2 separate regions of the Homo sapiens genome follow, and region 1 is linked to region 2. The links are contacts of gene promoters, found by promoter capture Hi-C in blood cells and fetal thymus (Javierre and others, 2016). All regions are on one chromosome and are shown on one strand. The core of a region is centred on a gene start or on the middle of the fragment in contact, and the rest is flanking DNA. Distances in the headings are between cores, read along the strand shown.

Region 1 (4,901 bases), core at 198-2,697, about 24 Mb before region 2:
CAGGGCTCCGGAGCCTTGTCCGACCCTTCGGAGGGAACATCGAGCAGCGAGTGACCCCGCATACCTCGGGGGGCAACTCGGGGAAGGGACTACTCAAGAGGAGCTGAATTTCCCGACTCTGGTCAGGCGCCAAGAGGACACCTAACTCCCGCTCGCAAATCACCTAGCCGTGTATCTTGGCTATTGGATGACTGCAGCGAGGAAAGGTGGTGCCTCTACGCTGGGGCGGGCTGAGCCGAATTGGGGCGGGGCCTAAAGATGGACTGCGGTGGGCGGGGCTTGGAAGAGGCGGGACTTTTGAGGCCGCTGAATTCTGCATTTTGAGTGGTACCACTTGTATGCAAGGAAGTATCTTTGAATGCCTTGACCATAATTGGGTTGCAATAGATATTAATTAAATGAATACATAACCACCTAATTTCATACACGAGAAAGCAAAGGCCCAGAAAGGTTCATTGACATGGCCAAGGTTAAGTGGAAATGAGTGGAATATAACTCAAAGTTTTAAATTTAGAAGTCCTAGATCATCACAGTTCTGATCCTAGATTACCTTTGGTTCATTCACTCACTCGTGTATGCATTATGCATTCTTTATTGTATTTATTTATCCACAAATCTTTATGGAGCACCTACCATGCACCTGGCCTTGTTCTAGGCACTTGAGAAACATCAGTTAACAAAACAAGCAAAGATTCTTGCCCTCATGAAGCTTATATTCTACCGAAGGCAGACATAATGGATAATTTATACGGTACCTAAAGGATGGAGGTGCTATGACAACAGGAAAAGCAGATAAGTTGAATGGGGAGGTCTGGGGGAAAGGATCAGGTTGCAATTTAAAATATACCAGAAGCTGACTTACCATGAAGCTAATGAAAGGTAAGTTCTGGGACCCTTCAATTGCAAAGGTGTTTTTCCAAGGTGTGGGAGAAACTTAACCATAGAATGTGTAAAACTTTCAAAAGCAAGATATTGCAATTGCTATTGGTTAAGAGTTCTGTTTCTTTGCATTCCAACTTCACCTCCATTACATTTCCCCTCCTGTTGGAGGGACAAGGAGAATTTTGGGGATCCAGCTAAGGAGGAAACGAGTTGGAGATACATTTGGTTTGAGTTTAGTGAATTTATTTATGTGGTTCATGGTCTTTCCTGCCATCCTCGTGTAAAAAATGGCTTCTGGGAATACTGCCATCCACTGGGCCAACTCACCTGGCACCGTGGCAGGAAGTCCCACTGGAAGTGGCATCTGATATGAAAGTGTTCTGCAGCACTTGACCTTGGAAATAAGTGGATGGAGAGGAAAAACAAGGTTTGAAATGTACAGATCCAGAAGCTAGTCTGTGTAAAATTCTTCCAAATATCAGATGTATAAAATTATAAGTGCAAGACACAGTGCTTAGTACATAGGAAGATATGGTGATAGTTAACCCTGCCACTAATAATTGCTGGAACTAAGGTGGCAGCACTAAAGGTTCAGAATCTGGATACATTTTGAAGAAAGAGTCTTCAGGATTTTTTGAAAGAATAAATATAGGGCGTGAAAGAAGAAAAGAGATTGAGGCTGACTCCAGGGTTTTTAACCTATGGAACTAGAAGGGTAGAGTTCCCCTCAACTTCAATGAGGAAAGCTGTGGGTGGAACAGGTTTGTGGGAATAGAGTAAGGGTCCAAAATGTGACCAATAAACCTAGAACCCAGTGTGATATCTTCACATCAGAACCTTTGGCCCAGCCTCCAGGCTCCTGCTTAGGTTGAGCATTGGGTGAGAAGCAACACAGGAAGACATTGGGTAGAAGTCCCTGCATATTGTCCAGTCTTAGACTAATTTATTCACCTCCATGAACCCTTTGCTCATCCACCAAATAAAAACCGTATTTGTTACAGCCACTTTGGAAGACAGTTTGGCAATTTCTTCCAAAACTAAGCATCCTCTCACCATATGATGCAGCAATTGCACTCCTTGGTATTTACCCAAATACCAGCTTGAAAACGGATGTCCACACAAAAACCCGTACACGGATGTTTTTAGCATCTTTATTCATAATTGTCAACACTTGGAAGCAACCAAGATGTCCTTTAGTGGGTGAATGGATAAATAAACTGCAGGATATCCAGACAATAAAATGCTATTCAGTGCAAAAAAGAAATGTAATATCAAGCCATGAAAAGACAGGAGGGAAGCTTAACTGCATATTACTAAGTGAAAGAAGTCTATCTGAAATGGCAACATACTGTATGATCCCAACTACATGGCATACTGAAAAAGGCAAGAGATGTTGTGAGAGTCAAGTGAGGTATTAATAATATGCAAAAAAAACCTCCCATCTGACTCAAAATAGACTCTCAGAACCAGTAGGAGGAATTATGGCTACTATTAATATTTTTTTCTTAATCCAGGACATAAGTAATTAAGAGAACTAGAATGTTCACTTCATTTGTTCTGTCACTGGTGGCCTCTTCCCCAGTGAAGTACTCCTTCCCGTGAACTCTAGAGGCAAGACTATGGAGACAGTAAAATGATCAGTGGTTGCCGGGGGTAGGGGGGAGAGTATGATACTATAATGATGAGTACATATCATTATATATTTGTCAAAACATAGACTGTACAACCCCAAAGTGAACCCTGATGTAACCCGTGGACTTTGGGTGATAAGGATGTGTCAGTGTAGATTCACCAATTGTAACAAATGTACTACTCTGGCAGGGGAAGTTGATAGTGGAGGAGGCTGTGCATGTGTGGGGGCAGGAGTAGATGGGTATATCTCTATACTTTCCACTCATTTTTGCTGTAAACCTAAAACTACTCCAAAAAAATAATGCCTAAACATTTTGGATACAGCATATAGTGCTCAGGTGATGAGTACACTAAGATCTCAGAATTCACCACTAAAGAACTCATTCATGTAACCAAAAACCATCCGTATCCCAAAAATTATTGAAATATAAATAAATAAATAATAAAAATAAAGTCTAGTTTTAAAAAGTTTTTCAACTGTTGGTAGTATCTGCCCTGATGGTTATGACAATCACAGGTAGGATAAGTAAAAATGTTTTGTAGACTGTAAATTTTATAAATGTTAGATGCAAGCATATGTCATGGAGAGAATCAGCCCCTGTAAATGGAGGTATAAACCACATTGGCCTGCACAGAACCACTGGAGCATGGGCCCTGTGAAGATGTCTTCCCCACTTTTGTGAATGATACGCGCTGGATTTGTTTCTTTGGGCTGCCATAACAAAATGCCAAAGTCAGGTGGCTTAAAACAACGGAAATTTGTTTTCTGACATTCTGGAGGTTTTGCTGAGACCTGCTTCCCCCAAATTCTCTAAGGAAGGATCTTTGCTTGCCTCTTCCAGATTCTGGTAGCCCCAGGCATTCGTCGGCTTCTACAGCATAACTCCAGTCTCTGCCTCCATCTTCCCATGTCTTCACTCTGTGTCTGTGTCTTTCCTCTTCTCTTCTAAGGTTAATGGTCATATTTGTTAGAACCCACCCTACTCTAATGTGACCTCATTGTAACTTGATTACATCTGCAATAAAAGACCCTGTATCCAAATAAGGTCACAGTCACAGGTACCAGGTGTTAGGACTTGAAAATGTCTTCTTGGAGGACACAATTCAACCCATAACATGCAGTTTGTATACTGGAATAATAGCTTAGCAGAGAGGTTTAGAGCCTAAGCTCTAGCAAAAGACAGTCTTGGGTACCAATCCAGGTTCTAAAACTTACTAGCTGTGCAGCCCTGAGTAAGTTATCTTACCTTTCTGTGCCTCTTTTTATAGTGATAGTGGTTACACCTACCTCACAGGAGTAGGTTATGAAGAGTCATTTTTATATGTAAGGCACATAGAATAGTGTGTGACACATAGTGCTCATTAAATGTTAGACATGATCATCATCATCATTAATTACTACCAATGATCAGCAAGCACAGTGATCACCACCATTCGGGTTCATAGCTGAAGTCTTTACCATCTCTCTGCATGTATTACAGACATTCTAATGGCAGGTGTAGCTTGTTCTTAGTGTAACTCACATACACCTGGTGCTTTCCTGACCGGAGAGACGTGTTGTAAACTTATATTTTAACACTCATCAGGTCCTCTAACTACTGAGCTGTTCTCATGTTTGTTTTACCTTTGGAAAACCATGAACCCATTTGCAGTGAACCCAGTGACAGTCATCAGAAAATAGGATGTGAAGGACAGGGAGGCCACTGAGGACCACATGAAACAGAGACAGGCTACCACCACTAAGATGGAAGCCAGCACCAGCCCAAGGGCCACAGCGAGGAAAGTACGCTCTCCCTGCCCTGCATCCAGCACCATGATGAAGCAAGGCTCATGGGGCAGTGCTAGGTGGGTAATCTTTTATCAAGTTGTCCACTCCATCCAGCTCTACACGGCTGGGGGACAAGGAGGGAGATATTAATACCCACCCATCCCCTGGCACATAGAAGGCTGCTCTTTGGTGCAGTCTTTTCCTCCCTGAGGCTGCCCTAATAGTAACTTCAATCTAAATTTCCTGACGTGGGTAGATGGCTCTGGGAGAAGTGTACTGCCCTGCAGGCCTCTTTCTCAGCTCCTGGTTTGGCCATATTCCCTCTCCTTACCTGACCTTATTGTGACTTTAGGTGTCAACCCCTGCCCTATGCTCCTTGCAATCATTTTCTGAGAACTGCCCCTCTCAGAGAGGGTAAGGGGTACACCCAATGACAAAGAGCCGACCTGGGCACTGCCAAGACTTGACACCAGGTCCTTGGGCTGGTGCTTTCTCCACCACGAAACTGACCCAAAGCATTTCAGGGATGAATTTTTACCCCATGCTTAGAGTGAAAGGTGCACTATTGATGGGGTTCTCGATGCAAATCCCAGCTCTACCATTTAGTAACTTGTCACTT
Region 2 (4,710 bases), core at 1,477-3,976:
TGGCTTTCTCTTACTCATAGTTCAAGTCTTAGCTTAGATTTTCTTCCTTCAGGAAGTGTTCCTTGATCCTCTAAGATTGGGTTAGGTGCCTTTAGATGTGCTCCAACAGTACCCACTGCCTACTTATATTCTATAATTTACTACATTGCAACTGCCTTTTTATTTGTCCATCACCCACCTAGACCTGAAACCTCTCCTGGGGCCTACCACAGTACCAGACATGTATTGACGCTTTATAAAGTTACAACATAATGAAATGAATGAATGAATAACAGGGAAACTCACACAGGAGGGCTGACAGCAATTCATGAGGGGTGAATACAAAGCCGCTAAAGCGAGCACCTCTGGTTTAGAATAATAAAGGTGATGCTCACATGTGGCAAGTTTGTCAAGTGCAATTAATTCTGCATTCTCAAAAACAGAGGCCTAAGTGTCAAGAGTTTCCAGATGATTTCCCATTCCTCACCACTTTTAGGGGAAAGGCATGGTTTCCAGGATTTCAGCTGTGTCTTTAAGGGCTGGAGGTGGATGTCTGTTGACTCTTGGGATGCTCTGAGACATGTTAAATCCTTCCATGGCACTGCTGGTCCCTGTGGACTAGCTGGGACCTGAAATCAGTAAAATATGGTTAGCTTTGTGAGAAAATCCCTAAGAAAACTTGCTTAGTAAAAATCTCAAAGAGGTCAATGATGACATCTCCAGGGATGAAGGACAGGGGAAAAAGACCATTCAAGGGTATAGACAAGTATGGCTCTATTAGTCACTTCAGGTTAGGGTTCAGTAGAGACATAAAAATTTTTATCCTACTGTTATGATACCATTACATGCTCCAGGCTGTAAATTCCTTTTCCCACATCACTTTTCTCCGTTCCCACCTGCTGCCCTGGGTCATCAAACTCCCTCTCTAAATCCTCCAACAGGGTCACAGCTTCCTCGCCGCTTTCTGGATTATGTTGCTGAACCCAGATCTGCAGCTCCTCAGGCAGAATGCTCAGGAACTGCTCCAGTACCAGCAGTTCTAAGATCTGCTCCTTTGTGTGCAACTCTGGCATTAGCCACTGATAGCAAAGTTCCTGGAGTCGGCTCAGAGCCTCCCGGGGCCCAGGTGTCTCCTGGTAGCAAAATTTTCTGAATTGCTGACGAAACAATTCTTGGCAGGATTGAGTACTCCCATTCTGCTTAAATTTCTCATCCCAGGAAAAGTTATCTTCTACTTTCACTAGTATTAGTTCTTGTTCCGGAGGATCCTGAGGTATCAGGGTTGAAATCACTCCAGATTCCACAGCCATTCTTGGCTGAAACAGCTTAGCAAAAAGCTCAGTACAACTGGTTCTGTGCTTGCGAAGGAGTGTGAGTAATCTCTTCTTTCCTGAAGGATATAAAAGCAGTTAACTTACAGCAATCAATAAAATCTCTAAGTACTTGTAATAAGAAAGATGAGTAACTTTAGTAATATATTGAAAGGGAGTAGATTTGGGGCTATCACTAAATAAAACAATAATGTGATGATAAACTAAAAATCATTAACCTCAATTAGTGTCTCCCATTATGAAGAATTCCTACCACTAATGTTAGAAAAAACTATTTTAGAAGCCTAAGAATGTGAATGCAACATTAACATCAATCACATAGTGAGAAAATTTCCTTTCCAATTCTTTCAATTCTGATTGTATCAAGGAGAAAAGTCTATCTTTAACATGTATGTATTAATAAAACTTGTAGAACTCTCTTTTAAATAAAATACAGGCTTCAGAATCAGACTTCCAAGAGTAAAAATATTTAGGCAGAATTTAGTAATACTGATTTTAAACATTTATTTTTACTTACTTTCTATCTAAAGCAAGTAATGTTGATTTTCATTTAAGGCAGTAATAACGTTTTTTTAAAAGTTCACATTAAACATGAGTTGATGTAAATATTGGATATTTGTCATTTGATCGCATTTGGTGTTTACCGAATTACTTCAACAAACACTGAGGCACTTACTGAGCATTAAGATTTTTGCTTATGAATAAACGAGTCTACAGAGGAATTGACCAAGAACCAAGACGTATCTGTAAAATGCTTACCATGTGTTCAAAAACATGATAGGTATCACATACACAAAAGCAGCAAAGAGATCCGTATCAGTTCTGAAAAAGCTTAGAATATCCCAAGACTAAAAATGTTCAAAAGCAAAATATGGTAACAAATAGGTATTAAATGTTGTGACACAGACCAAACTTGACCTGCTTTTAGGATGGCGAGATATCGATAGGAATGTATGCCCTTAGTTTGTCAGGACAGATGAGTAAAATTCATTCCTCACACTACGGTTAACGTTAAGAGATGAATTAAAATATTTAGCCTACAAATTTAAGGTTTAACCAGTCCGGCCGCACTAACTAACTAACTAACTAGCCCTTCTATTTTTATATCCTTGGTTAAACCGCAGCATTTACGAAGTCACGGGGTCAGCGGAACTGCGTTTTCCTTTGGAAAGCAGGAGTTTGAGTGCTGGCCTCCTCTGAGTTCCCCAGTCGCTTGGAGACGCCGCGCGGGCCAAAGGGCCGCGACCTGGGGATGGGCAGGCCGAGGAGCGGAGCTCCTCCACTGTCCGGCGCGCGCTCCCAACCCCACCTCCCTCTTCCTAGGGGCCCACGTCCCTCACCGCGAAGCCCAGGAGCGGCCAGGAAATGAGCCACCCACCCCGAGCTGCAAGCCACAAAGACCGGAAGTGCGCGTACGCAGTGTTCCGCTCTCGCGCCCTTCGGGTCCTCCGCCGCCCCGCCCCTTGCTCTGAGGTAGCCAATCAGAGCCGCGGGCTCTACAGTTTCCACCGCCTTCTCCCGGTAGCCGCTAGCCCGGCGGAATCTCCAAGGCCAGGGGAGGGTGCGCTAGGAGTCAGGGGTCCTTGTGAGCGGCGGCACCTGGAGGGTCCCGCATCTCGCCTGGGCCGTTCCCACCCTGGCTTTCTCCTGGCACCACCCATCATTGTTGGTCTCAAGTAATTCCCGAATCTCACTCCCAGTTTTCCATTAAAATATTCAGATTTTCGGCCGGGCGCGGTGGCCGAGGCGGGCGGATCACGAGGTCAGGAGATAGAGACCATCCTGGCTAACACGGTGAAACCCCGTCTCTACTAAAAATACAAAAATTTAGCTGGGCATGTTGGCGGGCGCCTGTAGTTCCAGCTACTCGGGAGGCTGAGGCAGGAGAATGGCGTGAACCCGGGAGGCGGAGCTTGCAGTGAACTGAGATGTGCTGCACTCCAGCCTGGGCGACAGAGCGAGACTCTGTCTCAAAAAAAAAAAAAAAAAAAAAACCTCAGATTTTCCTGTGATTCCAGTTCTTTTCCGACAAAAGTAAATGTAAGGATGAATAGGCTGAACAAAAACTAACAGTCACTTATATTGCTTTTGCCTATGAGTATCACTGGAGCCTTACAACAGTTCTGTGCTGTGGCTATATAATCCCAAATTTACAGCCGTAGACATCGCCCAAAGTCAGGCAACTTGTGACCAGGGACGTCCACGTCCCCATAGTTCAAGGAGACTGGTATCGTAGACTCCTGGAGCCTATCTTAGGGTCTTCCCGTTCTTCAGTGGAAGCTTGCTGGTATTGTCTCACTGTTTAAATTTTTCTTTGGCTATTTAGTCGGTGAAAAATGATGCCTCATGTTTCAACTTTGTGAGCTTAAGATAGTCCCCCTTCATGTTTACTGACCATTTATGGTTCTTCAGAGATGGCTTTTCCCATTTAAAAAATTAAGGGAGTAAGATTTTTCTTTTTTATTTGTGAGAATTTTTTGCTTATTAAGGATAGCAACTCGTTTGTTGCAAATCGTTTCCCATTTATTTGTATTTATTTTTAAAACGTTACATTTTACATGTTTAAATGTTACATATTTTTAAAATGTTATATTAAAAAAGTACACAGGATAATAACAAAGCGATACATACATACATAGAAACAAATTCTCCTTTGTGAGCCAAGACTTAAAACACATATTTGAGAAAAATGTTCGTTAGCATTCAAAGCTATTAGTGACTCACTAAATAATTTTATCATTGTGAAATGACTACAGCAATTTTACAAAGCAAAAAACCAAATAATATTAATTTGTTTATAAATTATCAATTGCTTCATAATGAACCACTTCAAGACTTAGTGACTAAAAACAGCAGATGTTTTATTGCTCACAGTTCTGTTGCCAGGAATTCAGGAAGGGCTTAGCGGAGATGGCTAGTCTGCTTTATGATGTGTCAGCTATCTTCACTTAACTGGGGTGGAAGGTCCAAGATGGCTTCACTCAAATTGCTGAAGTCTTGGTGTTGCCTCTTGGTTGAAGTTACTTGATTCTTCTCCACAAGGCCTCTCTCCATTCAGGAGTTTAGCCTAAGCTTTCTTACATGGTGACTGGCTTCCAAGAGAGTTAAGGAGGAGGAAAGATGCTAATTCTCTTAAAGCCTGAGTCTGGAACTGGCATTATATTTTTCTGCAGTATTCCATGACAGAAGGACTAGAATGGTGGAAAAGGGAAATAGACATTAAGCAGCTTGATCATAGGAGGAAATTTTGGCAGTTATCTTTGCATCCAACCTAACACACCTTGTTATATTGAGAAACCTACTATGTAAGAGTGAAACTATTGAAAGAGAGAAGGCATATCAGTTGAAATGCTTTTGGCTGCAGTAACAGGAACCTTACTAAATGTCCTTATTGTTCAAG

The links. Contacts are between HindIII fragments. The CHiCAGO score rates a contact against its expected background, and 5 or more counts as called.
Region 1: a fragment that was not itself captured here is called in contact with the fragment with the promoter of ZNF397 in region 2 in 2 of 17 cell types (total CD8 T cells and non-activated CD4 T cells); the score reaches 6.8 in total CD8 T cells.

The regions. Positions count from the first base shown.
Region 1 is chr18:59,134,782-59,139,682 of GRCh38, reverse strand. No RefSeq gene overlaps it. Among named protein-coding and RNA genes, the nearest start is that of SEC11C, 2.7 kb to the left of the region's middle. RefSeq lists enhancers at 1-39, 120-209 and a silencer at 320-369. The HindIII fragment of the contact is 1,471 bases long and covers 712-2,182 here.
Region 2 is chr18:35,239,050-35,243,759 of GRCh38, reverse strand. ZNF397 (zinc finger protein 397) reads right to left here and starts at 2,726. Exons shown (of 4, transcript NM_001135178.3): 1 at 2,651-2,726; 2 at 876-1,369; 3 at 467-608. The coding sequence starts at 1,289. RefSeq lists a silencer at 2,545-2,674 and enhancers at 2,464-2,989, 2,935-3,044. The HindIII fragment of the contact is 1,449 bases long and covers 2,144-3,592 here.